2 separate regions of the Homo sapiens genome follow, and region 2 is linked to region 1. The links are contacts of gene promoters, found by promoter capture Hi-C in blood cells and fetal thymus (Javierre and others, 2016). All regions are on one chromosome and are shown on one strand. Each heading gives the region's core, a stretch centred on a gene start or on the middle of the fragment in contact. The rest is flanking DNA. Distances are from core to core; before and after follow the strand shown. Region 1 holds the start of TCHHL1 (trichohyalin like 1). Region 2 has its middle 33 kb from the start of CRNN.

Region 1 (3,355 bases), core at 172-2,671:
GACATGTCATAAGTTTTCAATAAACATTAATTCTTTTCTCTTCCACACCCATAAAAATCCTTCAAGTATTTGAAGACAGTTATTATGTCTCCCATAAGTGTTTCTTTCCAATCCAGCCTTGAATATACCCAGTTCTTCATGAGACTGGCCCATGAGCTCCAGAGCAGGAAGATATAACTTACTCAACTCTAAACACTCCAGTTCCTGGCATAGTGTTGAGAAATAGCTGGTACTCTGGGGATATTAACTAATCAGAACTAAGATGACCTTCACATGCCAATTCCAATTCCCAGAAGTCTTCTCCCTTTGGGAGGATGCTGAGAAATTGTTTGTAGGTGTAAAGTATCAGTATGAATGTTTTTCCCCAAAATTTAGTTCCCTTGTATGTTCCTCGATAATCAGGAAATTCAGAATAAGGTTTTTGCTCAATAGCAATGCATCCCTTAGCTTCAGCTTTCTCATATAATTACCCCCATTCCCACCCCATCTTTAACTTGGTCTGTGTCTTTTATATTTGTTTGCATTGATCTGTCTATTTCTTCCATCCTTTGACAAGGAGTGTTTTAAAACATACTCTATTTTTTAAAAATATCTAAGAAAACCATTGAATCTAATTCTTATTTTATTAAATATTCTCTACTAAGAAGGACCCAGATCTAGGAGACAATTAAAATGTTTGCCAGTTCAGCATCTCAGACTCACTTCTGTTCTCAGCTTGATGATTTCAACATCTCCCTTTCCCCTTTACAGGGAGAACACAGTAATATAGATTATTGGTTTCAAGCTCCTTGTATAGTAAAAATGTCTTTAGAAAGCAAATATCAATCACGTTTTTAAAATAGCACAACATAGGTAAGCAAGGCTTTGCACACCAAGCAAGAATTTTTTTTTTTTTCTAACTCTGCCTCTGGGCAAGGAGAGCAAAGCATTGAAACATCTGAATCAACTGGTATCTCCACTTTTGTCACATGGCTAAATGGGGGCCTTTATTTTTAAACACATGATTGACACCCATCTCTCAGGTTTGGGTCAAATACGGGCCATCTTGTGGGCAGACAGAGGAATCAGATGACTTATGAGGTCCCTGCCAGCACTATGATTTGTCAGACAGAAATGTAATTATGTCCTTAGGTTAAAAAATGGGGGAGGGAAGCCAACACTACCTTGAAGAGCCTTCAAAACTATAATCTGCAAAAGTCAGTAAATGAATCAAGAAACCCCCTCCCCTTTCTTTTGATGCATCTGAAGCTAAGATTTAATTGAAACTGCCTAAAGAAGGAAATAAAATTAAGACAACTGACAACAGAGCAGGGGAGACTGGATTTGGTGGTGATGTCAGGTCATTAGACCCAGAGGGTGTCTCCTTCTTAACTGTGCAATTAGGACCTCAATAAAAGGTTCCAGCTCCTGCTGTCAGCTCACAGCCCGCTGCCCCACGTTCTACCTGCTCTCGCTTGTGAACTAGGTAAGTCCATCTGCTTGAGCATACTTGGGATTTCAGTTGCTGTTTTGCTTATATGTGAGATTGCAAGAGGATTTCAAAGGAAACACACTTTAAGTCTATGTCAACCCCTATTAATAATAATAAACTGGGAGCGCCAACCACCCAAATGCATTCCTTGATTATGGAACTTCTTTGATCATTTTCTTTTTAAAAAAAACATAAATTGTTTAGAAGTCATAGGCATGAATATTATTCAACAAGGCACAGGATCAGATCTCTATTGCAATGAAAATGTAGAAGCATTTAAAGGATGGGAAATGAATGAATAAGGGGTCGGGACATGGAATCATGTCTTCTTGGTTAAAGCATGTTGTTACCACCTGCAAACATAGGGGTTAATTTTCTTGGTGTGACTTATCTTTCCACTAGAAGCTTTGCTAACTTTAAAGGTTATACCCTCCTAACCGCAGGAGGCTAGACTGAGCCAAAGGGAGAGGAGAGCAGATAGACACTCTTGGATGAGGCTGGAAGAATGGGTCCAACTCTATTGGCTTCATTTATGCATTTCAATCCTTATGCTTGAGTTCTCTTATCACCTTCCTTTTGCAATGAAGCTTTCTCTGAGCACATGAATGTTGCTGTTTACTGAAGAGTGGGGTGAATTGTCTCTTCTAATACTTACCTATGCTGGGTCTGATTTCACCACAATGTCTGGTACAATACTAAATCACCCCTGGAGTTCAGATATAATATTTTAAGATACAGAATAGAGCAGGGGTTGCAGTGGAGATGGGGGAGGAACAAAAAGGATAATCTTGGTATCTCCTCCCTGAAGGACCCATCCTGGAAAATGAGCTTTGTTTATTCTTTCTCACAGCCTCTCCTGAGTTTGTAAAGATGCCTCAGCTCCTGAGAAATGTCCTCTGTGTAATTGAGACATTCCACAAATATGCCAGTGAGGACAGTAACGGGGCAACACTGACTGGCAGAGAGCTGAAACAACTCATCCAGGGCGAGTTTGGGGACTTTTTTCAGGTGAGCTTCTCACAGAGCTGTGTAAATTCTTTCCAACTCACCCTTTCTTTATAATCCAAGCAAGATGAGCATATGTGATCCCCATCCATTTTACACCTAGCTAACAGTTCTCAGCACTCACTGTCTCTTGAACAACTATTTTCAGTCTCAGTTCCATACTCTGTGCAATTACTTAGAGAAAAAGAGGTTTTCGTCACTGGGATTATTGCTTCTGCAAAGCTGACTTCTGAAAGGAGTCATAAACCATTATGCATCAAAATGCAACTCACAAGTGTTGTAAATGCTCTTTCTCAGGCATAGCTCTCTGATGAAAAATGGCTTGCAGAACCAATAAGTTCTTGCTGTTCTGGGAAAGTTAACCAGTTACTGAGGAATGAGGTCAGAAAAATAGGATTCTTGGGAGACACTTAGGACACTGGACCACATATAAATAAGCTGATTTCTCACTGTGTTTTCATGCAGCCCTGTGTCCTTCATGCTGTGGAAAAAAATTCAAATCTTCTGAATATTGACAGTAATGGCATCATCAGTTTTGATGAATTTGTTCTTGCAATCTTCAACTTGTTGAACCTCTGTTATCTTGACATAAAATCATTACTAAGTTCTGAACTAAGACAGGTGACTAAACCAGAGAAGGAGAAGCTAGATGATGTGGATGTTCAGGCAACCACCGGAGATGGTCAGTGGACAGTGGGAACTTCACCAACTCAAGAAAAGAGGATGCTTCCTTCAGGAATGGCATCATCATCTCAGCTCATCCCTGAAGAAAGTGGAGCAGTTGGAAATAACAGAGTGGACCCATGGAGAGAAGCCAAGACTCACAACTTTCCAGGAGAAGCATCTGAACACAATGATCCTAAGAACAAACACCTGGAA
Region 2 (3,116 bases), core at 61-2,560, 360 kb before region 1:
TAATTGGGGAGACTCCTAAGCCACAGTAGGCTCAGAGACTCTAGCACAGCCACGTTGGGGAAGAAGATTTATGAACAGAAAAAGGAAAGTGACATACAGAAAACAGAAATGAGGTACAGAAACAGCTGAATTGGTTACAGCTTGGTCTTTGCAGTATTTGAACACAGTGTGAATAGTTGGCCACCTTCAACTGGCCAAAACTCAGTGATTGACTCAAGAGTAGGCTACGGTCTGTGTAAAACTCCATTTAGGTTATAATTCACGATGTACAGGAAACCTTTAGGCTGAACTTACAATATATAAGAAGGCAGTTTTAGGCTAAACTTGATTTAACACTAGCGTTTCACAATCCCAACCCAACCACCATTTTCATCTTTTCCCAAAACTTACACCTATCAGAATCATACCAAAATTCATCTGATTTGAAAAAGTAATAAACTAGCAAACAAATAAATAAACAAGCTTATCACGGAGTGCGGTAAGCACTAAGAAGAAAGCAAATATGATGTGTCGACCCTGACTGCAGGCAGTGGCCGATGCCCCTTTAGCCACAGTAGCCCCAGAAAGGCTGCTCTGTGGAGTAGTCCCTGAACACTCCGTAGCCTGACATTCCTCCCATATTTCCATTCTCAGTCCCCACCCCTCCACCTGCCTTCAGCACTCCCTACCCCTCCTCCCCACCTTTTCTCATAACTCTTGTATCTCTTTGACACTGTTTATTTCTTATTGTACCTATTGTTAGACCACTCAACTATAAAGCTATGTGAGGGTAGGTTTTTTTGTATGTTTTGTTCACGACTGTATTCCCAGAACCTAGAACAGGGTTGGGCACACAGCAACTGCTTAATAAATACAGGTTGAATAAATCAAAGTAGTCTCCATTTATCCCTGGCACTAAGAGCATGAGCTAACTACTCAGGCAGGAGCCAGCTTTGCAAACTTCTGGCAGTTCTCAGAGGAGCCCTGGGCAAAGTCATCTCTTTGATCTTGCAGAACCAAAAGAAAGCCCTAACCACATTAGCTCCCCCACAATTGCCTCACCACAGCCTTGCCACAGGAGCAGAGTCTAGTCTGGAGAGATGTCCAGAACACAGGACACAAAATTCTTAAGAAGATTCTATGCTTGTTTGGATCACGCCCCAAACCCAGATGTCACCCCTGCTTCTTCTTTTTCCCTCACCCCTTTCCCCCACTTCGAGTCCTCTTCACTCCATTGCCAAATCTATTTTGAAGCTGCCCACCTTCTCTCTGTCTCCTCTGCCACCATCCCTTTAACCTGGGCCATGGCAGTAGCCCCTCAAGGTAGTCCCTCAGCTCCTACTCTTGGCCCTTCCTGTTCAAGCTCCATGTAGCATCCAGAGGACTCGTTTAAAAATCTAGGAGTATGTTTTCCCTGCTTAAAATTCTTCAACAGCTTTTCTCTGCTCTTAGAATAAGATTCAAACTCACTAAAAGTCGTCTCCTGCCTCTTTGGCCCTCGCTGGCTACACTCAAGCCCTACTGACAGCCTCTTTTGTCCTTTTCATGTGCACCAAGTTGTTCCTGTTTGTTCTAAATGTTCCCTCTGCCTATAATCCCCTTTCTCATCCTCAGGGCTCTGCTCAAACGCCTCCTTTTGGGAGAGGCCTTCTGGCCTGGCTACCTGAAGGTGTACCCTGCCTCCATGATTATGCTGTGTCACATCATCATGACTATTTCCTTCCTCACACTTATCGTGCTGTACTTTTCTTTGTTTATTAGTGCCTTGCCTGCCTTCCCCATTAGAGTGTGAGTTCCCTCAGTGTAGGGGTCTGTGTCTTTCTAATTCACCTCCCTTCTCCCAGTGCCTAGCATGTGATAGGTGCTTAATGAACATCCTTTTAAAGGAATAAATAGAGGAGCCTCTACTTACTCACATCTTCGGTATACACAGAGACACACTCATAGTCACACATACACACACAGACACTCATAGCCATGCATCAGCATACACACACAAGCAGAGGGGCACACACGCGTGCACACACACACAATCGAGGTTGCAGTCACTATTGACTCTGGTTGCAACCTTTTCTTCCTGCTTAGCCTCTTACAAGCCTTTGCCACTTTTGACATTCCCTCCATTGGAAACCACCTTCTTCCCCACAAGGCTGGATTATTCCATGTCCTTCTAAGCTTCTGGGACTTTGCTTTTCCCTCTGACCAATATGCTTTGCCAACCCTCCTATACCAGTTCATCCCTCATCCATGCTTCAAGGTGAGGTTCAAACATTATTTTTTCTTTGAAGTGTTCACAGAACCTGACGTCTCCTCTCTTCCTTTGTTATATCACTAACAGAATATCTGTCATGCTGTGTTTTTTGTTGTTTTTGTTTTGTGCTTCTGTCTCCCAGGTAGAGTGTGGAATTTTCTTGTGAACAGGTGCATTTCTCATTCATGACTGTATTCCCAGGGCTGAATGGAGCAGGTATACATAGGAAGTGCTCAGTACATGGGAGTGGAATTGACTGGGAGGCCTGGCCATGAGAGACATGGATCTTATATAGCTCTGTGACCATCTCTGGTTCCTGCTTCCTTCAAGTGACTCCTTTTCCTAGTACCTCCTAAATGTGATCACCTCCTGAGTTTTCCCTCTCCAGTCTCTGCTATTTCTCCACAGTGTCCTCTAAAGATGTTCAGAGGTTAAAGTACCTCTTCGATTCCCAGCACACAGGAATCCCTAACCACATTAATTCTCTTTTGCATCCCTGAGGCCAGCCCTACCATCAACCTCTACAGCCTCTTCCTGGCCAGACAGCATCAGGGGATAGACTTTATTCCTTAAAGCGCCTCTGAAGAACCATTCTGACACTCATCTCATACATCCTATGTGACAGAAATAGGACACAGGTTTCTGCCTAATGCCAGGAAGACATGACCTTAGGAAATGACTACTCAAGATTCTTAAGGCTGGTGCTGTATGGGATGACAGATCACCTTTCATTATCCTCTGAAAATAGGAAGGACATCGCTGAAGGCAACTCAGTTCAGGAGGATACTCTACCTCCTCAGCTCATAGAGTTGGCTGTTAGAGACTGATTCCAATGAGGACAGTGTTTCTGTAAATGCATAATCAGGACATCTGATCACAAAGCTAC

The links. Contacts are between HindIII fragments. The CHiCAGO score rates a contact against its expected background, and 5 or more counts as called.
Region 2: a contact is called between a fragment that was not itself captured here and the fragment with the promoter of TCHHL1 in region 1, in 3 of 17 cell types (M2 macrophages, non-activated CD4 T cells and M0 macrophages). The highest score is 5.9, in M2 macrophages.

Annotation. Positions count from the first base shown.
Region 1 is chr1:152,087,130-152,090,484 of GRCh38, reverse strand. TCHHL1 (trichohyalin like 1) reads left to right here and starts at 1,421. Exons shown (of 3, transcript NM_001008536.2): 1 at 1,421-1,465; 2 at 2,322-2,479; 3 at 2,942-3,355. The coding sequence starts at 2,342. The HindIII fragment of the contact is 6,885 bases long and covers 1-1,878 here.
Region 2 is chr1:152,446,147-152,449,262 of GRCh38, reverse strand. No RefSeq gene overlaps it. Among named protein-coding and RNA genes, the nearest start is that of CRNN, 33 kb to the right of the region's middle. The HindIII fragment of the contact is 1,692 bases long and covers 465-2,156 here.